Regions from separate parts of the Homo sapiens genome. Here all the other regions are linked to region 3. The links are contacts of gene promoters, found by promoter capture Hi-C in human tissues and cell types (Jung and others, 2019). All regions are on one chromosome and are shown on one strand. The core of a region is centred on a gene start or on the middle of the fragment in contact, and the rest is flanking DNA. Distances in the headings are between cores, read along the strand shown. Region 1 has its middle 4.0 kb from the start of OR10H4. Region 2 has its middle 3.7 kb from the start of CYP4F8. Region 3 holds the start of OR10H5 (olfactory receptor family 10 subfamily H member 5).

Region 1 (3,273 bases), core at 700-3,199, 160 kb before region 3:
TGGTTCAAGAAAAATGGGGACCTTGTATGCTCAAATAAGCTTTAAATAAATTGAAATGGTAGTCAAAGATGGTCTTTCTCTAAAATCTTTGCCCCAGTGGGTTTTATTAAAGTTTAGCAATTATTATTATGTTAAGAAACAGTTAGTATCTTATACATGAGCTTCAAAAACATAGAAAAGTGTTAGGAAATCTGACCAGCACATCTCAGCAGGTTAATGCAATCTCAGTCTAAAATCAGGTAAGAATATTTGCTGAAAAAAGAGACAAATTGGCCAGGGGTGGTGGCTCACGCCTGTAATCCCAGCACTTTGGGAGGCTGAGGCGGGTGGATCACGGGAGTTCGTGACCAGCCTGAAAAACATGGAGAAACCCCATCTGTACTAACAATACAAAATTAGCCAGGTGTGGTGGTGCATGCCTGTAATCCTAGCTACTTGGGAGGCTGAAGCAGGAGAATCACTTCAACCCGGGAGGTGGAGGTTGTGGTGAGCTGAGATTGCACCATTGCACTCCAGCCTGGGCAACAAGAGCAAAATTCTGTCTCAAAAAATAAAAAGAAAGAAAAAAAAAAGAAAAAGAGACAACTATAGGCCTACTTCACCTATCCATGCAGATTTTAAATTCCAGAATAAAACCATAACCTAGTCAAATTTAATGGTATATTAAAAATGGTTTACCATAATAAAGTGGTATAGATTTATTTCACAAATGACAAGGATGGCTAACATCAGAAAACCTATCATATGATTTATCACAGGAGTTGATTAAAAAAGAAAAATCATGATTATTTCAATAAAGGCATAAATATGTTTTTCTTAAACTCTACTCCTATTTATGATTTTTAAAGAACACTTCACAACACAAAATTCAAGGAGATTTTCTTATCTAAATATAGAATATATAGCACAAAATTAGCAAATACTACATACACTAAATGAAGAAACTTTTTGATGCATTATTTTAGGATCAAGAAAAAGCCAAGGATACTCACTAACTCTGCTGTTCTTTAACATGGAGCTGAAAGTCGTGAGTGATGTTACAAGGCAAGAAAAAGAAACAAAGTATCTAAGGTATCTGAGGACTGGAAGCGAAGAGACGTGATCATCTACATATAAAAGATAAAAGAATGATGGTATAATCTATTGGAACAATAACAGAGCCCAGTGATGCAGAAGGCAAGGTCAGCTGGCAAAAATCCCAGTGATCCTCCTAGTGTCACACCAGTAACAAGCATTCAAGAAATAGAAGTTGAATACAGAGAAGGGGAAGATTCCCAACAGCAACACAAACTATTAGGTTGGTGCAAAAGTAGTTGCACTCTTTGCCATTATCTTTACATTTAATAGGAGAAAGTGTAGGATAATAACTTTGTAATCTAGGCACGAGGAAAGACTTCCTAAGCAAAATTTCAAATGCACAAAATATAAAGAAAAATATAAAGAAACATGTCTCAGGATTCCTTTACACACCCAAATTACTGAGCACTCTAAAGGGCTTTTGTTTATTGTGGCTTAGAACTATCATTGTTTTTTACCATATTGGAAATGAAAATTGAAAATCATTTAAAATATTAGTTATTAGTACATTTAAAAGAGCAATAATGAACCTATTGCATGCTAATATTGACAGAGCAGGAGCATCACTATCTTGGACAAGCCCCTCATTCTAAAATTCCCCTTAATAAAAAACCGCCTAAATCCAAAGGGTGTCAGGCTAATGGCTAAGGTCAGCACAACCATAAACCATAAATAACATCTCCAGCCAGAAATATTCCAAACTCCTCCCCAGTGAGAGACATGCTGGCCCCGAAATTTGCCTCCTCTGGCTGGGAAGATGCCAGCCTCAAGATCACTCCCACCCGGCCGGAAAGATGTCAGCCCCAAGATAACCTCCCCTCCTCCCAGAGACATTCCAACCCTGCCATAAAACTTCTCCCCCACACAGAAACATTCCAAGCTTGTGATAAGCCCCTCACCCTAAAACTAATATGTACTCTTAGTGTGTAAGAGAAACTTCTCCTGACTGAAATTGGCCAGAAGCCCCCCTCAGGTTTTATCTAAAGTAAACCTGTCTTTAACTGCCAAGCCATGTTTCGTGTTTCTTTCTTCTTTCTTTAACTCTTACAAATATAAGTAACATTTTCAGGCAAATAACCACATTAAGAAAAAACATTCCGTGAGAAGAGTAGCCTTGTTTGACGTTTTAGCAAAAACATCGTATGTCCTGGCTTGGCAGGAAACAGCTTGATGCTCACATTTCTTTCTTTATTCAGTCTGTGGCAATATGTGCCAGGCGCGGTGGCTCACACCTGTAATCCTAGGCTGAGGTGGGCAGATCACGAGGTCAGGAGATCAAGACCATCCTGGATAACATGGTGAAACCTCGTCTCTACTAAAAAAAAAATACAAAAAATTAGCCGGGTGTGGTGGTGGGAGCCTGTATGATGTCTTAGTTGAGGCATATGATGAAAATATATTCTAATATATAATTAGAAAAAATAAAGACTTCAGGGATCACCCTGCAGAGGTCCTCATATCATACTTTGAAAAATTCTACTATGAAATATCTAGGAATTAACCCAAAGCATCCCATACCTTCAAAGAGAAAAATTTTAAATCCATACTAATAAACATGTAGAAGATTATCTGAACATACGGGGAGCAGTTTACAGTCTTGGGTGGTATGGCTTGATGTATGAATGATGTCAATTCATACTCAAATTATAACCTCAATACAATTGTGTTTACAGTTCCAGTGAATCAACCATACATTTAATGAAACTATTTGAAAATTCCTTCAGAAAAATAAATGTCAGGCCAGTGTGGTGGCTTACACCTGTAATTCCAGCACTTTGGGAGGTTGAGGAGGCCAAGAGTTTGAGACCAGCCTGGCCAACAAGACAAAACCCTGTCTCTACCGAAAATACAAAAATTAGCCAGGCGTGGTGTTGGGCACCTGTAATCCCAGCTACTCAGGAGGCTAAGGCAGGAGAATCACTTGAAACCAAGAGGTGGAGGTTGCAATCAGTGGAGACGGCACCACTGCACTCCAGCCTGGGTGACAGACTAAGACTCTGTCTCAAATACATACATACATAAATGTTAGCACGAACCATACTAATATTATAAAAATGGAAACAAGAGAAGAGCTGTTCTCTCCCACATGCTGAGACACACAATAGCGTCATAGTCATTTTTAAAATTATGAAAGATGGAACAGACATAGATCTGAATAAGTTGATTGGAAATCTCAAAAAATATCCCTGCATTATT
Region 2 (3,148 bases), core at 554-3,053, 180 kb after region 3:
GTCCCCTAGTGAGTATTGGAGGGAGGGGAGTCACTCATGGGAAAACAGAAGCTGGTGCTTCTCTGCAGGGGCCCTTCCACCCCTACCCAGAGTGGGGCAGTGGGAAAGTGCACCAGACCACAGAGTGACCAGCCTCAGTCACCACCCATCAATTCCTAAGCCTAAGTCTTCACATCTGACAAATGTGTCTCCTAAAGCATCACAAAGCATTGCCAGCATTCTATCAGACACAGGGAGAGAGAGCAGAGAATAAGTTCCAAATTAAAGATGTGAGTAATGGTCCCATCAATATAAAAAACGTACGAGTGTATGTGTATGTGTCTGTATGTACACATGTGTATGCACACTGAAAAAAATCCAGAAGAATGCACATACCACGATGGAATTGGAGAAATTACAATTGGAGTAGAAACCTTTTAACTTTCTACACGTCTCTGTTGCTTCGTTTTTCAAGCTGGGATGCTATAAATGTAATAATTAAAACAATTTTTTTTTTCCTCTGAAGTCCTTGTCCTTTATTGGGCAAGGGGTGAGGGAAGCAGACAGACCGGTTGGACACAGTAGATGGGTGTGTGAGGACAAAATGCTACCAGAAAGCCAGCCAATCCACACTCCCCTGAAATGGATGCTAACGCCCTTCAAACCCTGGGCATTGGTTTCATACACAGCCTCTTCCAGGGATAAAAGGGGTTCTTGTACAGCTTCTTGTTACCCTCAACCATGGAGGCAAGTTCTGAGTTCTGGTTTTCCTAGGACACTAACTCTAGTCACAAAGATCTCTGGAGTGATCACACATGGTGGAGTGGCAGGGTGAATATTTCAAAAGGATAAGTAGAACAGGAGTCTTGCCCAAGCCCTGTCATGTCAGTGTCTGTGTGTGGCCTCCCAGCCCAACCAGAAATTGACAGAGAGGCATGTATATGGTGAAAAGATATATATATATATATTCAGAATTAGGCAGCTGCACTCAGTTTAGATAATCCCAATTTTGTTGGCAACATCCAAAGCATCGTAATCAGGAGTCAGTCGAACATATACCTTCTTCTCTCCATCAGGCCGAATCAGGGTGTTGACCTTGGCCACATCAATGTCATAGAGCTTCTTCACAGCCTGTTTGATCTGGTGCTTGTTGGCTTTAACATCCACAATGAACACAAGTGTGTTGTTGTCTTCTATCTTCTTCATGGCAGACTCAGTGGTCAGCGGAAACTTGATGATAGCATAGTGGTCAAGCTTGTTTCTCCTGGGAGCGCTCTTCCGAGGATATTTGGGCTGTCTCCGGAGTCGCAGTGTCTTCGGCCGCCGGAAGGTGGGTGACGTGTGGATCTTCTTTTTGTGGCTGTGGACACCTTTCAACACTGCCTTCTTGGCCTTTAAAGCCTTCGCTTTGGCTTCGGCTTTAGGAGGGGCAGGAGCTTCCTTCTTCACTTTCGGCACCATCTTGTGAAAAGGGTCCAAAACAAATTTTTTTAAATAAATAAGGATTTGGTACAGTGGGGACACAGTTGATCCACAACATAGGTGAGTAGTTCTGTTTCGTTTTGTTTTGTTTTGCTTTGCTTTGTTTTTTGAGACAGAGTCTCACTTTGTCACCCAGGCTGGAGGGCAATGGTGCCAATCTCGGCTCACTGAAACCTCCGCCCCACCAGGTTCAAGCGATTATCCTACCTCAGCCTCCCGAGCAGCTGAGATTACAGGCATGAGCCACCACACCCAGCTAATTTTTGTATTTTTAGTAGAGACAGGGTTTCACCATATTGGCCAGGCTGGTCTCCAACTCCTGACCTCAAGTGATCCAACCACCTCGGCCTCCCAAAGTGCTGGGATTACAGGCGTGAGCCACTGCGCCCAGCCAATAGGTGAGTTGTTCTTACTGTGTCACCATGAAGACCCAGCTCCCAGGAATCGGCCTGCAGTCTCCCTAGAACAAGCACACGGGCTGCCCACTAGCTGGAGTTTCACCTTCCCTGTCCTTGAATGCTCAGGAAGGAACACATTCTGGCTTCAGCACAACTGAGTTCAAGTCCAGGCTCTGCCACTCACTAGCTGTGTAACCCTCTGAGTCTCATAGCCTCCTCGATAAAATGCAAAGGTCAAGTTCTAACTTTTAGGTAATTAGTTTCTCAACAACAAACTTCACATGAACACTTAAATGGTAGCAGGCATGGTGCTAGGACCTGGGACACAGGTTGAACAAGACAGACGTGGTCTCTGCTGATAACCTACCAGTCACATTAGTCCCAATTAGCCCCCGGAAAAGATCTCTTGATGCATGGGTTACATCCTGTTCCTGAGTAAAGAATCTTGTGAGTTCCTCAAATCTTATCTTTAATTACTCAGATCTTATGAGTTCTTCCAACTGTTGATGTTCTGATTTTCCACTGATATGGAAAAGCACAATCCTTTGTTTCTAAACCATGAAGTTTTGCTTTATATTTATAAATCATAAAGTTTTTCTTTTCTTTTCTTTTTTTTTTTGAGACAGGGTCTTTGTCACCCAGGCTGGAGTGCAGTGGCGCAGTCTCATCTTACTGCAACCTCCATCTCCTAGGTTCAAGCAACCTTCCTGCCTCAGCCTCTCGAGTTGTTGGGATTGCAGGCATGTGCCACCATGCCCAGCTAATTTTTGTATTTTTAGTAGAGCAGAGTTTCACCATATTGGCTAGGCTGGTCTCGAACTACTGGCCTCAGGAGCGATGAGCTTCTCCTCAAGGGATCTGCCCGTCTCAACCTCCCAAAGTGCTGGGATTACAGGCATAAGCCACTGTGCCCTCTCTTATAAAGTTTCACTGATGGTTTTACATACAAAATGTTTTAGCCTGTATGTTATAACCTGTATCTAATCATTATGACCTCTGTATTATACCCTCCAATAAAAACAGACAATTCTGATATAAGAAGTTCCCTTCTCTTCTCCTAAACTTTCTTATAAAAACATTCCAAATTGTAAAAGATTCTGGCACACATCCAAATGTGTTGGTGCATCTTTCTGGGTTGATCCTCACCTTTGGCTTCAAATAAACCCTTATCAAAGTATTTCTGCCTCGGCAGCTTTAATTTCACTCCACAAAATGATGTAGTCATCAGTGTTTCAGAGTGGCCTCCCTGGTCACCCTGGACCTTCCTGAGCAGGTTTCAACCTTCATGC
Region 3 (3,019 bases), core at 295-2,794:
GGTGCTCATCTGGGGCTGGAATAAACTGGAGACACACAGCCATTCCATGTGTGAGGGCACTGTGTGTGTTGAATCATGTCCCTCCAAAACTCATGTTCATTCAGAACCTCAGAATGTGACCTTTGGACACAGGGAGGGGAACAACACACACTGGGGCCTGTTGGGGTAGGGCAGGGGTGGGGAGAGCCTCAGAAAAATAGCTAATGTATGCCAGGCTTAATACCTAGGTGATAGGTTGATAGGTGCAGCAAAGCACCATGGCACACATTTGCCTGTGTGACAAACCTGCACATCCTGAGCATGTACCCTGAAACCAAACTAAACTAAACTAAAATAAAATAATGTGACCTTAGGTGGCAATAGAGTCTTTTACAGATGTCATTAAGGTAAGGATCCAAAAATGAGATCAGCTGGGTGTGGTGGCTCACACCTATAATCCCAGCACTGTGGGAGACCAAGGTGGGTGGGGCGGGGGATTGCTTGAATCCAGGAGTTCGAGACCAGCCTGAGCAACATGGCAAAACCCCATCTCTACAAAAATTAGCTGGGCGTGGTGCTGTGTGCCTGCGCTAACAGCTGCTTAGGAGGCCAAGTGGGAGGATCAGTTGAGCCTGGGAGGTCGAGGCTGCAGTGAGCTGTGATCGTGCCACTGCACTCCAGCCTGGGTGACAGAGCGAGACCCTGTCCAAAAAATAATAATAATAAAAATAAAAATGAGATTATTCTGAATTAGGTTGTTTACTAAATCCAACAACTGGTGCCCCTCAAAGACGAGGGGAGGACACACAGAGGAAAAGGTCGCGTGAAGAGAGAGGCAGAGATTGGAGCGATGCAGCTACAAATCAATCAATGCCTAGAGCACCCAGAAGCTGGAAGAGGCAAGGCATCTTCTCCCTTAGAATCTTCAGAGGGAGAGTAGCTTTGTAGACGTCTTGCTTTAAGACGTCTAGCCTCCAGAACCCTGCAAGAATGCATTTATCTTGTTTTAAGCCACAAGGTTTGCGGCACTTTGAAATGGCAGCTACAATAATCTCATACAAGCGCACACAACTGCACACACACACACACAGTGAAGGCAGGAGTACACATGGGTGATGCCTAAGTACACCCACATGCATGGTGACACACTCAATGTCACCCGCTTGGCTCAGAACCACCCTCCTCCACAACTTAGTATAGAGACCACTCCCCACCCCAGCATGGACCCTGGTGGCCACGACTGCTGTGGAAAGGGGGCTGCTCTAGGCAGTAGGTGGACTCTATGGGGGACTTGGAGTGAGGACAGGCTGATCCAGCCTGGAGTCAGGTGGCTGAGGCTATAGAACCCCTACTCCATATCATCCCATGCTCCCTCTCGTTTCTTTTCCCAAACCTGTGCCTCCCTCTGTTCCAATTTTCCCTGCTTCTCTTGCCTTCTCCCTTCCACCTCCCAGTACTCTTGCCACTTCATCCTGGAAAGCAGGTTTGGAAATAGACGACTCCACTTACCTTCATCAGAGACCTTTAGGGACGCCTTGCAGCCAGGCCTGTAATGGCCCTGGGCACAGTGCACCCAGGGTGAGAGCTTCATCTCTGCAGGCGTCTTCCCCAGTGGCACGTTCCCAGAGGTGTCTTGAGGAGCCTGCCTGGGATGCAGGATGCAGGGTAATCGAAGTCCAAGGAGGGAGGCGGGGGACCTTGGGATTGCCCTCTCCATTCCTGCCTCCCTCCTTCCTTTGCTGCTTCCCTCCCTCTTTTCTTCCTTCTCTTCCTTCCTTCCTCTCTTCTTCCCTTCTTCCATCTTTCCTCCCTTCCTCCTGCCTGGGACCCCTTCCACCACTACTCACTCTCACTTATCTCAGTCCTGTTCTCATTTGAGGTTTCAGTTTTTACATCACCTCCTCCCTAAAGATCTCACCATCAAACCCTGACACCACCATCAAACCCTGACACCACCACCACCACCACCCCCTGCGGCTAGCGAGGCTGGGCTGGGCTGCCCCAATTCCAAGCATTTTGGAAAAATGGGACTGGATTCTGGGTGATGTTTCCCAGGATGGTGTCTCTTCTCAACAGATATCAGGAAAGGGATCTGGAGAGACACAGAGGTGTGATTCTCAGAAGAAGCATCCTCTATGGTTGCCTCTGGGAACACAAAGCCCACAGAGGGCAGGGAACAAGGCCAAGGTCACACGGTAGGTTCCTGCAGCAAGCCCAGATGGAGTGGAGGGGCCAAGAGCTCCAGCTCTGCCTCTTCCTCCCCATAAACTTGACAGGGTGCATCATGACCCAGGTATCAACACCTTCAGAATCTCCCAGTTCCCCATAACTCCAGAAACAGTCCAACAAAGATTTCAGATACTGGAATTATCAGGCAAGGACTATGAAACAATATTGCTTACGAAGTTTAAATAACGAAATGTAATTTTGGAAATATCTTCAAGGATAAAGCATTGTAAAGAGCGGCAGGGTTGATTTGAAAAAAAAGATATATAATTTTTAGAACCAAAGCTACAATATTAATATCCCAGGAGAAGTTTAATGCATGTCAGACACAATTGAAGAGAGAATTAGTGAGTTGGGGGCCGGGCGCGGTGGCTCATGCCTGTAATCCCAGCACTCTGGGAGGCTGAGGCAGGTGGATCACTTGAGTTCAGGAGCTCAAGACCAGCCTGGCCAACATGGCGAAACCCCATCTCTACTCAAAATACAAAAATTAGTCAGATGTAGATTCTGGATATTAGCCCTTTGTCAGATGAGTAGATTGCAAAAATTTTCTCCCATTCTGTAGGTTGACTGTTCACTCTGATGGTAGTTTCTTTTGCTGTGCAGAAGCTCTTTAGTTTAATTATATCCCATTTGTCAATTTTGGCTTTTGTTGCCGTTGCTTTTGGTGTTTTAGACATGAAGTCCTTGCCCATGCCTATGTACTGAAAGGTATTGCCTAGGTTTTCTTCTAGGGTTTTTATGGTTTTAGGTCTAACATTTAAGTCTTTAGTCCATCTTGAATTAATTTTTGTGTAAGGTGTAAGGAAGGGAT

Evidence for each region. The method cuts DNA at HindIII sites, captures the fragments that hold promoters and counts their contacts. A contact is called where the count stands out against the background at its distance.
Region 1: a contact is called between a fragment that was not itself captured here and the fragment with the promoter of OR10H5 in region 3, in 5 of the 25 tissues and cell types used here (mesendoderm cells, neural progenitor cells, ovary and 2 more).
Region 2: a fragment that was not itself captured here is called in contact with the fragment with the promoter of OR10H5 in region 3 in 9 of the 25 tissues and cell types used here (H1 embryonic stem cells, bladder, heart right ventricle and 6 more).

What each region holds. Positions count from the first base shown.
Region 1 is chr19:15,943,415-15,946,687 of GRCh38, reverse strand. No RefSeq gene overlaps it. Among named protein-coding and RNA genes, the nearest start is that of OR10H4, 4.0 kb to the left of the region's middle. The HindIII fragment of the contact is 5,665 bases long and covers 1-3,273 here.
Region 2 is chr19:15,609,948-15,613,095 of GRCh38, reverse strand. It overlaps the pseudogene RPL23AP2. Among named protein-coding and RNA genes, the nearest start is that of CYP4F8, 3.7 kb to the left of the region's middle. The HindIII fragment of the contact is 7,491 bases long and covers 1-3,148 here.
Region 3 is chr19:15,786,186-15,789,204 of GRCh38, reverse strand. OR10H5 (olfactory receptor family 10 subfamily H member 5) reads right to left here and starts at 1,544. Exons shown (of 2, transcript NM_001004466.2): 1 at 1,489-1,544. The HindIII fragment of the contact is 26,370 bases long and covers 1-3,019 here.